2 separate regions of the Homo sapiens genome follow, and region 1 is linked to region 2. Evidence: promoter capture Hi-C in 16 types of primary human blood cells and fetal thymus (Javierre and others, 2016). All regions are on one chromosome and are shown on one strand. Each heading gives the region's core, a stretch centred on a gene start or on the middle of the fragment in contact. The rest is flanking DNA. Distances are from core to core; before and after follow the strand shown.

Region 1 (4,117 bases), core at 1,126-3,625, 650 kb after region 2:
GCTGGCAGGCTCTATTTCATCTTATGTAAACTACAGATAATACCTACTCACCTCAAGGGTGTATCAAGGGTTTATGTAAGCTAAATTTGTAGAAAGCAGTTAGCACAGTGCCAGGAAGAGTCCAAGAAGAAATGGTACTTACTATGATATATTTGTACGTATATATGTATACATATTAATGAGCTCTTATTAGTTGTGTTCATTAAAGGTTTTCTCCATCCTGTGATTTGCTTTTAGATTTTGGAACACATTTCATTGTGCACATTCCATTTTTATTATTAACATAACAACATTTATTACCATAATTATCATCAATTCAATCATATCTACCGTATCACTGATGATGACCATGATTCTTTTAATAATTATAAGACTCTCTTCCCTTCATCACGGGGTAAATAACCTATCACAATGCTGTAAGTCTCCATCAGCACCCCAGGCTGCCCCTGCTCACTTACCAGATCTGCTACTTTAGCCAGATCAATCATCATGTTAATGTCACACCCACATTCAATAATGGTGAGTCTGCGCTTTTTACCTATAAGTGAAAAGATGAAAATTTTACTTTAAAAAGACCCTGAAAAAACTCTAACCATCAACTCTTAATTTTCATTTTTTAACTGCATCCAGTAAAACATCATATACATTTACAGGAGCATACAAGAAGTTCATTTTTACAGGCAAAAACTGATAAAATAAAATAAATTCCATTCTGTTTTTCTTGCTGTGTTCTAAATTTAAATAACATCAAAAGTCTACCCAGATGAATAAAAGTGCTCAAAAAGGGAAAATTCTGACTGCACAGACTCCATGATAACCATGATCCTGCTGTTCAGCTGCAGGCCCAATGTCTTTGCCTCTATCAAAACTTCCCGTATTCCCACTAGAGCTACAAACATCCTCAAACATAATGCAACAGAATATTCATAACAATAATTACTTCTAAATTAAGGTAAAAATAAAACAGTCAAGAAAATATGGGCTGGGCACAGTAGCTCTCGCCTGTAGTCCCAGCAACTTGGGAGGCCAAGGCAGGCGGATCCCTTGAGCCCAGGAGTTTTGAGACCAGCCTGGGCCATATGGGGAAACCCCATCTCTACAGAAAAAAAAAAAAAAGGAAAAAAAAGAAAAATTAGCCAGGCGTGGTGGCATACACTACTCAGGAGGCTAAGGTAGGAGGAATGCTTGAACCTGGGAGGTAGAGGCTGCAGTGAGCCGTAATCACACCACTGCACTCCAGCCTGTACCACAGAGTAAGACTCTGTCTCAAAAAAGGGAAAAGAAAATATGGATGCTCCAAAGATAAAGAAAAGCCTCAATCCAACTATATTATTGCAATAACAAGAGATTTCAGAGTGTACATTGCCATTCTACCACTGGAAGTTTGTTTCATTTTCCCTCAAACTCGGAAAGGTCACCATCTCCCAAAGCAGACAATTCTCACAGGAAAAAGAGAAAACTCGCACTTCCACCAGAATGTGGCTTCATAAGGCAAGCATATGCACCTGGCACATAGGAGGTGCGTGCTATCTGTTAAATGATGTGTTCACGGTGACTAGGCCTGCTAGGCCCTTCCAAGGAACATGTTTGGCAAAGCCAAAGAGCAGTCAGGATAAGACATAGTGAACATTATCATTTCTCATACAAAAAATGGAGGAGGAAACCAGGAAGAAAAGGAAAGCATCACCTTAAGAGGCTGGACCACACATCCTTCTACACGGAGGAAGAGGACTGTGGCTGGTGTCGCAATCGAGCAGCAAAGCTTGATTTTCCAGCCCGAGTGCTGGGTTCGAGTATCTTCCTGCCTTGGAACCTCCCAGAGTGCTGGGAGGAAATGTGAACATTATCACATCCTTATCTCTGGGAACTTACCCTTTTCTGAAGCTATAGCCAACTTAGTAATACTAAGTATAAGAGAAGTCCCATGATATGACAATATTTAACATGTTCCACTCAAGAAAACAACAAACGCATGCATGTCCCTCAGATGACAACAGCCACGCCAACTCTGTGTCTGTGGTGGCATCTCCTACCTGACACAATCGTCACAGGGCCTCTGATCTCAGTCAACTTCTGCCGGGTAAAGTTCCGAATGAGGCATTGTATCAAAGTGCTCTTTCCAACTTTTGGAGGTCCCATCACCACTACCACTATTGGTGGGGGCTCTAGTGGAGTTCGATCAACCACTGGAATATGATGCTTTTTTGTCTTCAAATCCTGAGTCCTATTCATTAAAAAATAAACAAATAAATAAATAGTAAACTCATTTTCAAAATAGAGTAAAAGGTATCAACCTTATAAGTAGACTTTTTTGGTACACTTATAGCTATGAGTACTTTAGCACATTTTATAGAGAGTACAACAGACAATATATAAATATAATTAACTTGTCAATTATTAACTTGCTAACTTCTGGCCCCATCCAAATAATTGCTGTTCAATAAAGATGTAACAAGATGACTTCAATACTATAGAGAGCGAAAATTAAACACTCCTTAAATCTGACTGTTTTAAGAGTGATTTTAATAGTTTTTTAAAAAACCAAAAGGTAAATAGCGAGGCAGTACATCATAGCAGATAAGAGCAGAGGCGCTGGAGTTACATTTAGCTCTCCTACTTACTGGTTATATGATTGGAGGTAACTTGTTTTCTTGATCTCAGTTTTCTTACCCATAAAATGAGGGCAAGAATGATTCCTACTCTGGTAAGGCTGCTGGAAGGATTTAGTTGAATAATGTTTAAAGTACACTGCTAGGCATATCACAAGGGCTCACTAAATAAAGCTATGTTAGTATTAAATATTGTAATTTTTGTATTTTATATTACAACTATGTAAAACATACCTGGGGGGAAAAAGCACACTTATCACCATAGAAACAGTTTAAAATTTAGGAACAAACAAAGTCTATAAATTCTTGTATCCTGGGCAATAAACACTAACCAGTATGCAGATGCTGGAGGCAAGGCAGCTTCTATGGGAAAAGCTTCTCACGTTTTAGTGAAAGCCACACACCATGAATCTCCATGTCCTTTGGAGCTGGACTAGACTCGTGAATCCAAATGTCACCTGTGAGAGGCTCCTACTATTTAAAAAAAGAATCAATGGAAGAATGACCAGACCGTAGCCTAACATACCTGTGAAAGGATCGAGCCATCCGCACAGCAGACTGAACTGCAAAAGCTTTGGGATTTCTCTTCCGGGCATCTTCTTCGTCTCCTAGCTGGAGATCCTGCAGAAGCCGCTTCTTTTTCTTTGCAGCTTTGGGTCCACTGTTTTTCTTTCTGTGTTTCTTCTGGTCCTTAGCCTCCATAGTGGCTATTTACCAATAACAAGTAACTCTAACCTACAAGGAAGAAGGTTGGGGTAAGGAGATGGGAGAAGCATTTTACAATCCAGGCAATACCCAGGGAAAAACAGTAAATTTCATTTATTTCTTTATGAAGAGATGATGTATTTGTTCACTGAACAAGGGTAGAAACTGCTTAACCATCCCCAATTTCATTTCTCTCTGTTATGCTATAAATTAGATGAGTTACCTCTCTTAAGATTACATTTTATGGTTAAGTTACTTTTTATTCATCTTAAGTGTCAACATCAGCAGTATCTATTTCTGCAAGGATAGAAATATACTATATCTGTACTTTTCAGCCATTTAGCCATTAGCCACATGTGGTTACTTACAATATACTTAGGGAAACTGAAAAAATGAGTTTTTAATTAATTTCATTCTAACTCCAAATAGTCACATGTGGCTACCATACTGGACAGCTCAGACCCAGGTATCAACTGGACTGATGAAGTGGTTTCCTAACTTAAACTAAAACTTAAATTTTAATAAAAAAATGTGAAACGTTTTTATGAACCTCCAATATGATCGCAGTATTACTTTTAGTACCTGTTGACTCTGTAAAACTCCTAAATTACAACTTATCTACATACATTTGAAAAATAGAAATAGCTGTACGTGTGAGATAGGACTGGTTCTAGATGACACCTGGAGACCCCATGAACTTACAGAGACCCTTCCAGTGATTTCTGAGTTACCTGGGAATCTGTGGCTAATAAATTGGCAATCACTGAATTAGTGAGTTATTTTAGGAAATCGGGCTGCATAAA
Region 2 (4,305 bases), core at 1,633-4,132:
AGTAGATTCACATTGTTGTGAAACAGATCTCTAGAACATTTTCATCTTGCAAATCTGAAACTCTGTACCCATTAAACAACTTCCCATTCCTCCTTACCGCAGCCTCTAGCAACCACCATTCTACTTTTCTGTTTACATGAATTTGACTACTTCAGATTCTCATATAAGTGGGGATCATACAATATTTGTCCATTACTGGTTTACTTCACTTAACATAATATCGTCAACATTCATCCATGTTGCAGCATATGACATTTTCTTTTTTATTTTCACTTATTTATTTATTTTTGAGATGGAGTCTCACTCTGTCACCCAGGCTAGAGTGTAGTGGTGCCATCTCGGCTCACTGCAACCTCCACCTCCCAGGTTCAAGCAATTCTCCCTGCCTCAGCTTCCTGAGTAGTTGGGATTACAGGCGCCCACCACCATGCCCAGCTAATTTTTGTATTTTTAGTAGAGACAGGGTTTCACCATGTTGGCCAGGCTGGTCTTGAACTCCTGACCTTAGGTGATCTGCCCTCCTCGGCCTCCCCAAGTGCTGGGATTACAGGCGTTAGCCACCGCACCCGGCCATCTTATTTTTATTTTTTGAAGAGATGGAGTCTTGCTCTGTCACTCAGGGTGGAGTACAGCAGTGCAATCATGGCTCACTGAAGCCTCAACCTCCTAGGCACATGTAATCCTCCGACTTCAGCTTCCAGAGTAGCTAGGACTACAGGCACATGCCACAATGCCCAGCTGATTTTTTTTTGAGACGGAATCTCGTTCTGTCACCCAGGCTGGAGTGCAGTGGCGTGATCTCGGCTCACTGCAACCTCGGCCTCCCGGATTCAAGCAATTCTTCTGCCTCAGCCTCTCAAGTAGCTGGGATTACAGGCATGTGCCACCATGCCCGGCTAATATTTTTGTACTTTTAGTAGAGACAAGGTTTCACCATATTGGCCAGGCTGGTCTCAAACTCCTGACCCTCTGATCCACCCACCTCGACCTCCCAAAGTGCTGGGACTACAGGCGTGAGACACCGCGCCCGGCCTGCCCAGCTAATTTTTGTATTCTTTATTTTATTTTATTTTTTGTGGAAACAGGATCTCGCTATGTTGCTCAGGCTGGTCTGGAACTCCTGGACTCAAGCAATCCTCCCACCTTGGCCTCCCAAAGTGCTGGGATTACCAGCATGAGCCGCTGCATCCAGCCAAGATTTTCTTCCTAAGGCTGAATGATATTCTATTGTATATGACACATTTTGTTTATCCATCTATCAATGGACACTGGGGTTACCTCTCCCTTTTGACTATTGCAAATAATGCTGCTATGAACATGACTGTACAAGTAACTGAGTCCCCGCTTTCATTTCTCTTGGATTCAGACCCAGAAGTGGTACTGCTGGATCATATGGCAATTCTATTTGTTAATTTTTTGAGGGAACTGCCATACTGTTTTCCATAGCTGCTGTACCATTTTACATTCTTACCAACAATACACAAGGGTATATTTCTTAATATATGGGGGCTGGGTGCAGTGGCTCACGCCTGTAATCCCAGCACTTTGGGGGGCTGAGGCAGGTGGATCACCTGAGGTCAATAATTCGAGACCAGCCTGGCCAACAAGGCAAAACCCTGTCTCTACTAAAAATACAAAAATTAGCCGGGTGTGGTGGCACGTGCCTGTAACCCTCGTCACTTGGGAGGCTGAGGCAGGAGAATTGCTTGAAGCCAGGAGGTGGAGGTTTCAGTGAGCCAAAATCACGCCACTGCACTCCAGCCTGGGCGACAGAGGGAGACTCCACCTCAAAATATATATATATATGGAACCTAAGACAAAAGCCTGCACTCACCCCTAATCTGCTAAATTCAAGTTCTCTCCATGATGAGGTTTCAAAAGGAATTAGTGCAAAATGTATTTAAGGATATGACCAGAAAGGAGAAAGAAAAAACAAATGGCTATTACACACACAGCAGAAAAGTAACACTAGGAGGCAAAGGAACTCAATGAAGAAATATTTCGGTGGCAGGCGGTGGTTCAGCCTGTAATCCCCGCACTTTGGAAAGCTAAAGCAGGAGAATCACTTGAGCCCAGGAGTTCAAGACCAGCCTGAGCAACATAGTGATACCCCTGTTTCTATTTATAAATAAATAAATAAATAAATATTTCCAACCAAAGAATACAAACTTAGTAAAGCTAATGAAGGAAGAACACAGTGAAGAGCTGCCGATGTAAGAGAAAAAAAGAAAATTTCCGGAGGAAAAAAGTTCAAAGATTTGCAACTATTTCCTCAGAAGGAACTGGGAAAAGGGAGTTTTGAGTAATAAGGCCTTGTGCAAGTTTCTGACTCTTAAGGATGTGAATGTACTGCCTTAAAAAATAAACTAAAAAGAGCCTCTTTTCTCACCACAACTCAACAATCATGAAGGTATCCTTGCAAGTGTGTGTAGACCTCTCATGCCTCCTAGGTCCAGGGTCACTCGTCCAGGACTCTCCCAATATCCCTGCCCAGAGGAAGCGCTTCCTCAGACTCGGTTCCTTCTGGTTGCCCTTGTCTCGCTTCTCTAGGGTGGGCTGGCCGCTCCCGCACTGGGGTCAAAGATCCTCCGGGTTCTCTCTGCCACGACTCGCCCTGATCCCAAATCCCAGCCCCACGGTCCCCACCCCCAGCGGGCCCAGTCCCCGCTCGATCCTGGGTGTGCGGCCCTCGACCTCAGACCCGGCCCCTGCCCGCCGGCCGCCCCTCACCTCGGCCTCGGAGGCTCCACGCTCCCCCTCTCACAGCCCGCACCTCGGCGGTCTCTCGGAGGAGGGAGGAACCCGAGGTACCTGGTAGTCGTAGCTGAGGAACTTACAGGCTTGTTGACCATCTCACCATGGAAACTGCCGCAGCGCTCCCTGGGCGGGGCCGCCGAGGGGCGGGGCCTGCGCGAATCCCGGGCGCCCGCCAGTCCAGCGCTCCCTGCGCTTCCGGAAGCCTTGCTGCTCCCGCGTGCCTAGCGGGGGCTCGGCCCTATGCCACGGGCATCCCACCCTGCTACCAGCTGCCCTCTTGTCCGCTGGCCGGACTCTTACCCCAGCCTTCTTCAGGAAGACACGGCGCAGTCCGGCTTCCCCACGAAAGCGAAGGTCGCTGGGACCGCGGCTGGGCGTCCGGGGGCGGGGCCGCGACGCCATTGTGACGCGCTCGGAGCAGGGCTGGGCCGAGGACCCCGGGCGCTGGAGGGCAGGCCCTAGCCACTGCTCCTGAGGCCCTGGAGGCAGCTGACGCTTGAGGCCGCTGGGCGCCGCAACGTGAGCCCAAAGGACGCCCCGCTTCAAGACTGGCGCAAGAGGAAAAAATGAAGGTCGTTTTCTGCGGAGGATGTTAGGAGAACGAGAACTGCGGGCCAGAGAACTGACCTAGCTTAAGGAGCGCAGGCAGCCTCTGCCGCCGGCTCTTGGGGAGACACGGAGAGGATGGGGTCCCCGCTCCGCATCAGGTCCTCTGACGCACCCCGGCTTTCCAGGAGGTAGGACTGGCCACAGGCCTCCTTCCCAGGGACAAAGTGCAAAGCAGAGGCTGTCAGCAGCGTGACCTTCGCTGCAGGAGAAATACGCGTCCAGTTCGTTTTCGTCAGAGTTCTGCTACATCAGGCCTGCCGTATTTGCTGTACACAAATCAGCCAACTTCCCAGGCCTGGGTGCGGAGGTATTTGTTAAGCACATGCACACAGTTGGAATTAGCAGCCTCAGGGATCAAAAGTTGTCCTTTTTTTTTTTTTTTTTTTTGGAGACGAAGTTTCGCTCTTGTTGCCCAGGCTGGAGTGCAGTGGCGCGATCTTGGCTCACTGCAACCTCCGCCTCCCGAGTTCAAGTGATTCTCCTACCTCAGGCTCCCGAGTAGCTGGGATTACAGTCGTCCGCCACCACGCCCGGTTAATTTTTTTTGTTTTTAGTAGAGATGGGGTTTCACCATTTTGGCCAGGCTGGTGTCGAACTCTTTTTTTTTTTTTTTTTTTTTTTTTTTGAGACGGAGTCTCGCTCTGTCACCCAGGGTGGAGTGCAGTGGCGCGATCTCAGCTCACTGCAAGCTCCGCCTCCCAGGGTCACGCCATTGTCTTGCCTCAGCCTCCCGAGTAGCTGGGACTACAGGCGCCCGCCACCACGCCCGGCTAATTTTTTGTATTTTTAGTAGAGACGGGGTTTCACCGTGTTAGCCAGGTTGGTCTTGATCTCCTGACCTCGTGATCCGCCCGTCTCGGCCTCCCAAAGTGCTGGGATTACAGGCATGAGCCACCGTGCCCGGCCTGGTGTCGAACTCTTGACCTCAGGTGATCCACT

Evidence for each region. Contacts are between HindIII fragments. The CHiCAGO score rates a contact against its expected background, and 5 or more counts as called.
Region 1: a contact is called between a fragment that was not itself captured here and the fragment with the promoter of ZNF487 in region 2, in 1 of 17 cell types (total B cells). The highest score is 5.0, in total B cells.

The regions. Positions count from the first base shown.
Region 1 is chr10:42,783,589-42,787,705 of GRCh38, reverse strand. BMS1 (BMS1 ribosome biogenesis factor) reads right to left here. Exons shown (of 23, transcript NM_014753.4): 2 at 3,136-3,344; 3 at 2,034-2,224; 4 at 459-538. The coding sequence starts at 3,311. Among named protein-coding and RNA genes, the nearest start is that of BMS1, 2.9 kb to the right of the region's middle. The HindIII fragment of the contact is 1,222 bases long and covers 1,765-2,986 here.
Region 2 is chr10:43,435,688-43,439,992 of GRCh38, reverse strand. ZNF487 (zinc finger protein 487) reads right to left here and starts at 2,882. Exons shown (of 4, transcript NM_001355444.3): 1 at 2,731-2,882. RefSeq lists a silencer at 2,598-3,257 and an enhancer at 3,358-3,427. The HindIII fragment of the contact is 37,036 bases long and covers 1-4,305 here.